Linked DNA regions of Homo sapiens: all the other regions are linked to region 1. Evidence: promoter capture Hi-C in human tissues and cell types (Jung and others, 2019). All regions are on one chromosome and are shown on one strand. The core of a region is centred on a gene start or on the middle of the fragment in contact, and the rest is flanking DNA. Distances in the headings are between cores, read along the strand shown. Region 1 holds the start of CDKN2AIPNL (CDKN2A interacting protein N-terminal like). Region 2 overlaps CDKL3 (cyclin dependent kinase like 3). Region 3 has its middle 19 kb from the start of LINC01843.

Region 1 (3,139 bases), core at 294-2,793:
CAAAAGTCTGTCCTAGTGTGTTGACCATACTTCAGTCTTTCCTCCTGCAAAACAAATTCACTTAATGAAAACTCAGGGAGGGAACCAGAGATAATTGTTTCCTTTGGCGTTCTGGACTAAATTTAGGCAGATAAGGGAACAACTTCATCTTGTGCTTTGGGAGGAACAAAGAATTGACAGACAGGAGTGTGTGTTGGTGGCGGAGGTCACAGAGACCTTGAGGCTTCTTCATCAGTTCAGCATGTCAAAATACATTTTGGGGTGTTGGTTTCTGAGCCCCAACACCCAGTTACTGTAGTTGAATGCTTCCAGGGATGGAAAATTCACCACTTAAAAGGAAGCTCTTTTTTCTCTCAGTGTGTCTGCTACCTGAGACTCGAACAGACAGCAGAGTCATGCCAGCTAAATAAAAACTTTCAGGTCCAGCCAGTTACGATGGCTCATACCTGTAATCCCAGCATTTTGGGAGGCTGAGGGAGACGGATCACTTGAGCTCAGGAGTTCGAGACCAGCCTGGGCAACATGGCGAAACCCTGTCTCTATTTAAAACCAAGTCCAAACTTGCTCATTTCCTCTGGACACATTGTTTCTGGCTCCTTCCAGCATCTTTTGTAAACACAGGTGTCACTGTTCTGGTTAAAATCCTTCAGCGGCTCCCCATTCTTGGGATCTAGCCAGGATCCCTGCCTGGCCTACTGGCCTTGCTGACCTCTGCAACTTCATCTTCTCCATTCTCTACCTGCCCTGCCCCGCCCCCCAACCCCTCCTACCCCCTATCTTGCAATTCTCTTACCAGGCCATGCTCTCTCTTGCTTTGACCGACTCCCCTTTACTCAGAAAACTGCTCATTCTTCACTTCTCCAGGATCACTTCCCTGACCCCAAGACTAGATTGGGTCCCTTGCTTATTCATGGTTGTAGCACGCTGAACTTCTCTTTACTAATACTTGTCAACGCTGAAATTCTCCATTTACTTGAGCAATTATGTCACTAATGTCCACTCCTCCACTCCATGGTAAAGTTCAGGCGAGCAGGGCTCCGAATGTGCTCTCATTGCCTCTCCAGCACCTAGCAATGTGCCTGGCAAGTATTCACGGGATGGATGGATTACTCGCTCCAGGAAGGCGGGCCCCAACCTTCGTGGCTGTGGAGACCCCTGGAAGTCGACCGTGACCCGGGCCCCCTGATGTCGCTCAGGATGAGGCGGTGCCCGGGAAACTCTCAGGGCAAGGGCACAGCATAGCTCTGGCTGGCATCCAGCTGCCAACTGGAAGAGGGCGCTCCGAATCTGTGTTTAGGGACCTCAGTTTTCCCACCGGTTCCCCGCAGGGTCGACCGCAAAAGACCCTTGTAGCCCTGGGTAGACCCAGGGCAGGAGCCACGGGCTGCGGCGGTCTGAGGAGCCAGGAGCCGCTCTGTGCCCCCGCAGGCCGCCGCTCCGGGCGAGGGCGCTCCAGGTTGGTCTTCTGGAGCAGTCGTGCGCTGATGGGGCCCCTCTGGCCGGCAGGCGGTGGCGCAGTGCGCGTCGGGAAGGCGGCGGGCTATCCGGTCCTCGGCTGCGGCGGGCACCATGGTCGGTGGCGAGGCGGCTGCCGCAGTGGAGGAGCTGGTTTCGGGGGTGCGGCAGGCGGCCGACTTCGCGGAGCAGTTCCGCTCCTACTCAGAGAGCGAGAAGCAATGGAAGGCCCGCATGGAATTCATCCTGCGCCACCTGCCCGACTACCGCGACCCGCCCGACGGCAGTGGCCGCCTGGACCAGCTGCTCTCCCTCTCCATGGTCTGGGCCAACCATCTCTTCCTAGGCTGCAGGTGCGGACCCCTGCCGGCCGGCTGATCCTGTCCCCTATCTTCCGACCCTCAAGGCCTCTCCCAGGGCTCACCCCTGACCCGAACCTCTGCCCCAGACTGAACCCGGGCCCAACCTCCATCCGCATTGGTCGGCCCGAAGACTGATTCCCACCCTGGAGGCCCCTTGGAAAGATCCTTATCTTTGAGCCTCAGTTTTCTCTTCTGGTAAAAGGGTGGTTATGATGGCTGTAATAATTAAAGGGTGAAGAGCTAAATACATGGCGGGTTCAAAGGTTGCTATTGTTATTTGTATTACTATTATTATTAGCTCAAACCATCACCTTTGCAGTATGCATTCGAAGTCCGTTAGCCCCTGTCACCTACATGGCAAACGTGCAGAGAGAGAAACGGAGATCCCCATTTTACAGATGAAAAAGCTTAGGGAGAGAAGTGATATACCTGGGGCCATGCAGCTTCTGGCAGGATTGATGGATTTTAATCACTAATGAGAGGATGTAATCTGTATCCTATGGCTTTTTCTCCTCACTCCACAGCCCACGGGGTCCTAAGTAGGAACCAGCTTCACCTCTCTGCTTTCCCTCTTATGAAAATGGCCGATGCCTTTTTGTGAAGGTCTCAAAGCCCACTTCATCCTGGCTGCAGCACCAAAAGGACAAAGGCCCGCTTTTGAAGTGCCTGATAAGGCATTCCTTTCACCCCTCCATGAGGAAGGTGGCAAATCTTGAGACTCCCTATTAGAGAGCTTCGATTTTCCTGAAATTGTGTTAGGAAAATAGGGTGACTTGGTTTGATCTTGGTTTCTATACCTATTATGGCTGCCTGACTCTGGTCATTTGGCCCCTGCAGGCCTAAGCCACTTGGTTTTGCTTCACATATTGGGGTTTATTAGAACAGTACGTAGGGAAGCAATGCCAGAGGCACCCGTCCCTTTTCCCTGCCTTCTAGGTGCTCCTGGGAAATCCTGGTTTTCCATGGTTAGGCAAATGTCAGAGAATTGGGGAAATAAATAATGTTTTTGTTAGACTAACATTCCATGTATTTAAAAAATAAAAATATTTTGGTCCTCATCCTGTATCTGAGAATATCTGTTGCTGGATGTACAGTGCCTCTGTTCTTCTAAATCTTGAAACATCTGCTGTACTGGTATTTCTGAAGTCCACTTCTGTATCTACAAGCAAGAAGTGTTCACAGGGCCAGGCACGGTGTCTCACGCCAGTAATCCTAGCACTTTGGGAGGAGGATCACTTGAGGTCAGGAGTTGGAGACCAGCCTGGCCAACATGGTGAAACCCTGTCTCTACTAAAAATAAAAAATTAGCCAGGCGTGGTGGC
Region 2 (3,139 bases), core at 336-2,835, 82 kb after region 1:
ATAAAGACACATGCACACGTATGTTTATTGTGGCACTATTCACAATAGCAAAGACTTGGAACCAACCCAAATGTCCATCAATAATAGACTGAATAAAGAAAAATGTGGCACATATACACCATGGAATACTATCTTGCCATAAAAAAGGACGAGTTCATGTCCTTTGCAGGGACATGAATGAAGCTGGAAACCATCATTCTCAGCAAAATATCACAAGGACAGAAAACCAAACACCACATGTTCTCATAAGTGGGAGTTGAACAATGAGAACACATGGACACAGGGAGGGGAACATCACACACTGGGGCCTGTTGGTGGGTGGGGGCCCGGGGGAGGGATAGTGTTAGGAGAAATACCTAATGTAAATGACGAGTTGATGGGTACAGCAAACCAACATGGCACACATATACCTATGTAACAAACCTGCACATTTTACACATGTACCCTAGAACTTTATAGTAATTTAAAAAATAAATTAAATTAAAAAAAGAAAGGAGGAAAGGATGTTAAAAATGAAGCCTGCAGCAGCAGACCATTCACATCAACTTGTGAGGAAAACATTTATCTTGTTCATGCCCTAATTGAAGGGGACGATTGCCCTAATTGAAGGATGATTAATAGTAGAAACAGTAGCCAACAGTATAGACATCTCAGTTGGTTCAGCTTACACAATTCTGACTGCAAAATTAAAATTGAGCAAACTTTCCACTTGATGGATGCCAAAACCGTTGCAACCAGATCAGCTGCAGACGAGAGCAGAACTTTCAATGGAAATTTTAAACAGGTGGCATCAAGATCCTGAAGCATTTCTTTGAAAAACTGTGACAGATGATGAAACCTGGCTTTACTAACATTATCCTGAAGACGAAGCACTGGCTACCAAGAGGTGGAAGTGGGCTGGTCAAAGCAAGAGTCCAGTCAAGACCAAAGGTCATGGCAATGGTTTTTTTGGGATGCTCAAGGCATTTTGCTTGTTGACTTTCTGGATGACCAGAGAATGATAATATCTGCTTCTTGTGAGAATGTTTCGAGAAAGTTAGCCAAAGCTTTTTTTGTTTTTTTTTCTTTCAGACAGGGTCTGGCTCTGTCACCCAGACTGGAGTGCAGTTGTGGGAACTTGGCTCACTGCAACCTCTGTTTCCTGGGCTCAAGCAATCCTCCCACCTCAGCCTCCCAAGTAGCTGGGACTACAGGTATGTGCCACCATGCCCAGCTACATTTTGTATTTTTTGTAGAGATGGGGTTTCACCATGTTGTCCAGGCTGGTCTCAAACTCCTGAGCTCAAGCACTCTGCCTGCCTTGGTCTACCAAAGTGTTGAGATTACAGGCATGAGCCACTACACCTGGCCAAAAGTGAGCCAAAGATTTAGCAAAATAAACGTCTGGGAAAGCTTCACCAGAGTGTCCATCTCCACCATGACCATGCTCCAGCTCATTCCTCTCATCAAACGAGGGCAATTTTATAAACATTTTGGTGGGAAATTATTAGGCATCTACCTTAAAGTCCTGATTTAGTTCCTCCTCATTCTTTTTTTTCCTAATCTTAAAAAATCTATAAAGGGCACCCATTTTTCTTCAGTTAACAATGTAAAAAGGACTACATTGACATGGTTAAATTCCCAAGACACTCAGTTCTTTAGGGACATACTAAATGGCTTGTATCACTGCTTACAAAAGTATCTTGAACCTTATGGATCTTACACTGAGAATAAAGTTTATATTTTTATTTTTTCTTAGAGTATCATTATTATTATTATTAATTTTTTTTTTTTGAGACAGGGTCTCACTCTGTTGCCCAGACTGGAGTGCAGTGGCGCGATCTCACCTCACTGCAATCTCCACCTTCCAGACTCAAGCAATTCTCCTGCCTCAGCCTCCCAAATAGCTGGGATTACAGGTGTGTGCCACCATGCCCGGCTAATGAGAATAAAGCTTATATTTTAATTTTTATCTTTTAATTCCATTATCATGAACTTTTTGAAGTCCCCTTGTATAATTGCTTTTTAAAATTAATTAACAGCGTGGTGGCTCACGCCTGTAATCCCAGCACTTTGGGAGGCCGAGGTGGGTGGATCACGAGGTCAGGAGATGGAGACCACCCTGGCTAACATGGTGAAACCCCCTCTCTACTAAAAATACAAAAAATTAGCCGGGCGTAGTGGCGGGTGCCTGTAATCCCAGCTACTCTGGAGGCTGAGGCAGGAGAATGGCGTCAACCCAGGAAGCGGAGCTTGCAGTGAGCTGCACTCCACTGCATTCCAGCCTGGGCGACAGAGCGAGACTCTGTCTCAAAAAATAAATAAATAAATAAAATAAAAAATTAAATTAAATTAAATTAATTAACAGAAGAAGAGAGAAAATTCTGCATTTATATTGCCTTTTATAATTACATAATTACCTTTACCAGTGCTCTTTGTTTTTTCATGTGGATTTTTTATTTTTTTGAGACAGGATCTCACTCTGTTACCCAGGCTGGAGTGCAGTGGAGTGATCGTGACTCACTGCAGCCTCAACCTTCTGGGCTCAATCAATCCTCCTGCTTCAGCCTCCCAAATAGTTGGGACTACAGGCATGTGCCACCACACCCACCTAATTTATTTTTTTGTAGAGACAAAGTCTCACTATATTGCCTAGGCTGGTCTCGAACTCCTGTCCTCAAGCAATCTTCCCACCTCAGCCCTCAAATGTGCTGGGATTACAGGTATGAGGAACTGTACCTGGCCTTCCTGTGGATTTGAATTACTGTCTGGGGTCACTTGCTTTCAGTCTTAAGAACTTCATTCAGTATTTCTTGTGAGGTGGATTGGTTAGCAACAAATTCTCTCAGTTTTTGTTTATTTTGGAAAGTCTTAACTTTCACCTTCATTTTTGAAAGATATCTTTGCTAGATATAGGCGTTTTTGTTGAGAGGTCTTTTTTGAGCACTTTTAATTGTTGTACCACTATCTACTGGTCTCCATTGTTTCTATTAAGAAGTCTGTTGTTAATCTTACCAAAGTTCTCTTGTAAGTGATGATTTGTTTTTCTCATGCTGCTTTCAAGATTTTCGTTTTGTATGATGTGTTAGTTTGTGGATTTCTTTGTGCTTATTGTTCTTGGAGTTTGTTGAGCTTCCTGTATTTGTGGATTATTGTTTTG
Region 3 (3,139 bases), core at 345-2,844, 75 kb before region 1:
GATATGGATCATAGGCCTATATGTATGAGCTAAAACTATCAAACTTCTAGAAAAAAACATAGCAGAAAATCTTAGTGATCTTGGGTTTGGCAGAGACTTCTTAAATGGGCTACAAAGAGCACAAACTATAAAAATCGATAAATTGGGCATCATCAAAATTAAGAGCTATTATGAAAGGCAAGCCACAGACTGGAAAAAAAAATTGTAAAACATATATCTTAAAACTCAATAAAAAGATAACCCAATTGAAAAATGGGCAAAAGAATTGAATATGCACCTCATCAATGAAATATATTTAGATGGCAAATAAATACATGAAAAGATGCTCAACACAGTTTGTCATTAGGCAACTACAAATTAAAACTACATGCCCCCTAGAAGGGCTAGAATTTAAAATAACTGACCAGGCTAGGCGTGGTGGCTCACATCTGTAATCCCAGCACTTTCATAGGCCGAGGCAGCCGGATCACCTGAGGTCGGGAGTTTGAGACCAGCCTGGCCAATATGGTGAAACCCTGTCTCTACTAAAAATACAAAAATTAGCAGGGCATGGTGGCATGCGCCTGTAATCCCAGCTACTTGGGAGACTGAGGCAGGAAAATCGCTTGAACCCAGGAGGTGGAGATTGCAGTGAGCCGAGATCTTGCCACCGCACTCCAGGCTGGGCGACAGGGCGAGACTCCATCTCAAAACAGAAAAACAAACAATAAAACAAAATAACTGACCAAATCAAGTATTGGCAAAGATGGAGTCCAGGAAGGGTACAACAGGAACTCTCTCATATGCTGCTGATGAGAACGCAAAATGGAACAACCACTTCGGAAAACACTTAGATCATTTCTTAAAAAGATAAATATATACCTATCATATGACCCAGCCATTCCATTCCTAGGTATTTACCAAAGAGAAATGAAAGCATATGTCCATACAAAGTTTTGTACACAATGTTCATAGTTGCTTTATTTATAACAGCCCCAAACTGGGAATAATCCAAATGTCTATCAACAAGATAGTGGAAAAACAAATTGCCATATATCCAGATAATGGAATACTGCTCAACAATAAAAAGGAATGAACTGCTGTTACATACAACAACATAGATGAGCCTCAATATAATTAGTATATACTGTATAGTTCCATTAATATATGATTCTAGAAAAAAGACCAACCTATAGTGACGGATCAGGAGGCACAAGGAGACACTAGGGGATTATGAGTATATTATATGAACACTGCAGAGTCTAACCTTTCTTCACTTGATAGGCATTTATGTTGTTTCCAGTTTGGGCCCTGTGGTAGACAGAGAGATGTGTCACCCAGATCCCTCTTCAAGGAAGGATTTGCTGTCCAGTTGTAGAGGGTGTGATCAGCAGAAACCTTCAGATGACAGCTTCTTTGGGGTCCACCTGAGCTGCAGAGAGCTGCCTTGCCCAACATCATATCCTTTCCAGAGCACTTTGCATCTAGTATCCAACGAAAGCAAGTGAATGGAGGCTGGGCCATTTTCATCCAACACAGGACAACTCAGATGCAGACTATTTGCACCAGAGTTCCCCGCCAGCTTGGCTTGGGTTTCATTAGGCCTGCATCACAGTTTTAACTTCTGCCCAATCCTGCTTTTTCTCCCTTCCCTTCAGAGATGTTTGTATTAGTCTATTTGTGTTGCTATAAAGGAATCCCTGAGACTGGGTAATTTATTAAGAAAAGAGGGTCGGGTGTGGTGGCTCATGCCTGTAGTCCCAGCACTTTGGGAGGCCTAGGTGGTCGGATCACCTGAGGTTAGGAGTTCGAGACCAGCCTTGCCAACACTGTGAAACTCTGTCTCTACTAAATATACAAAAATTAGCCCAATGTGGTGGTGGGTGCCCATAATCCCAGCTACTCGGAAGGTTGAGGCAGGAGAATTGCTTGAACACAGGAGAAGGAGGTTGCAGTGAGCCGAGGTCACGTCATTGTACTTTAGCCTGGGCAACAAGAGCAAAACTCCATCTCAAAAAAAAAAAAAAGAAAAAAGAAAGAAAAGAGGTGGAGGGAGAAGAGCAGGAAAAAAAAGAAAAAAAAAGTAGGCTTATTTGGCTCACCATTCTGCAGGCTGTACATGAAGCATGATGCTGCCAGCATCTACTTTATGGAAGGACCTCAGGAAGCTTCCTCTCATGGTGGAAGGCAAAGGGGGAGCAGGTGTGTCACATGGCAAGAGATGGAGCAAGAGAGGAGGAAGTAACAGGCTCCTTTAAACAACCAGCTCTCCTGTGAACTCATTACCACTCATTACTGCAGCAAGGGCACCAAACCATTCATGAGGGATCAGCCCTGTGACCCGATGCCTACCACTAGGCCCACCTCCAGCATTGTGGGTCACATTTCAACATGATATTTGAAGGAGACAAATATCCAAACCATATCAATGTTGATCCTAATAAATATCTTGTACCCCAAACTCTATCCCAGCATGTTTCCTGAGAACCTGACCTATGACAAGACTACTACAAACAATGCTTCTATGAACATTCTTGTCCATGTTTCCTGATGCACGTAAGCTCACTTTTCTGTAGGATATTTATCTAAGAGCAGAATTGCTGGGGCATAGAGTATGTTATTTTCAGCTTAATTGGATAATGCTGAACTGTATTCTAAAGTAGTTATACAAGTTTGTGTAAATTTACATGAATGAGTGTTTTTGCTAAAACTTGGAATTGTCAAAATTTTAAATTTTGGTCAGTTTGGTAAGTGTGTAGTAGTACTTTATTATGCTTTTATTTTACCTTTCCCACATTACTAAAGAAGTTGATCACATTTTTATGTTACTGACTTTTGGATTTCTTTTTTGTAAAGTTCCTATCTTTTGCCCATTTTTCTGCTGGATTGCCTGTCTTTTATCACTAATTGATATGAATTCTGTATATATTCTAGCAACAAGATTTTTGTCAGTTTTATCTGTTGCAATTATCTTCTATTACTCTGTGGCTGGCCTTTCACTCAATGTTGTCTTTTGATGAACAGATATTCCTAATTTTGTCCATCTTTCCTTTGCGATATTACTTTTTGTACCTTACTTAAGAAAACTTTTAAAATCCAAGACTATGAAGATATTCTTCTACATTATTACTTTAAAGCTTTGTAATTTTGTCTTTTATAT

What was found. The method cuts DNA at HindIII sites, captures the fragments that hold promoters and counts their contacts. A contact is called where the count stands out against the background at its distance.
Region 2: a fragment that was not itself captured here is called in contact with the fragment with the promoter of CDKN2AIPNL in region 1 in 2 of the 25 tissues and cell types used here (bladder and dorsolateral prefrontal cortex).
Region 3: a contact is called between a fragment that was not itself captured here and the fragment with the promoter of CDKN2AIPNL in region 1, in 3 of the 25 tissues and cell types used here (aorta, lymphoblastoid cells and pancreas).

Annotation. Positions count from the first base shown.
Region 1 is chr5:134,410,285-134,413,423 of GRCh38, reverse strand. It overlaps CDKN2AIPNL (CDKN2A interacting protein N-terminal like), which reads left to right and starts at 1,543. Exons shown (of 3, transcript NM_080656.3): 1 at 1,543-1,808. The coding sequence starts at 1,570. RefSeq lists enhancers at 675-1,412, 1,400-1,889, 1,413-2,151. The HindIII fragment of the contact is 17,979 bases long and covers 1-2,983 here.
Region 2 is chr5:134,328,644-134,331,782 of GRCh38, reverse strand. The region is part of intron 4 of CDKL3 (cyclin dependent kinase like 3); the gene reads left to right. Among named protein-coding and RNA genes, the nearest start is that of CDKL3, 37 kb to the left of the region's middle. The HindIII fragment of the contact is 4,026 bases long and covers 1-3,139 here.
Region 3 is chr5:134,485,812-134,488,950 of GRCh38, reverse strand. No RefSeq gene overlaps it. Among named protein-coding and RNA genes, the nearest start is that of LINC01843, 19 kb to the left of the region's middle. The HindIII fragment of the contact is 6,099 bases long and covers 1-3,139 here.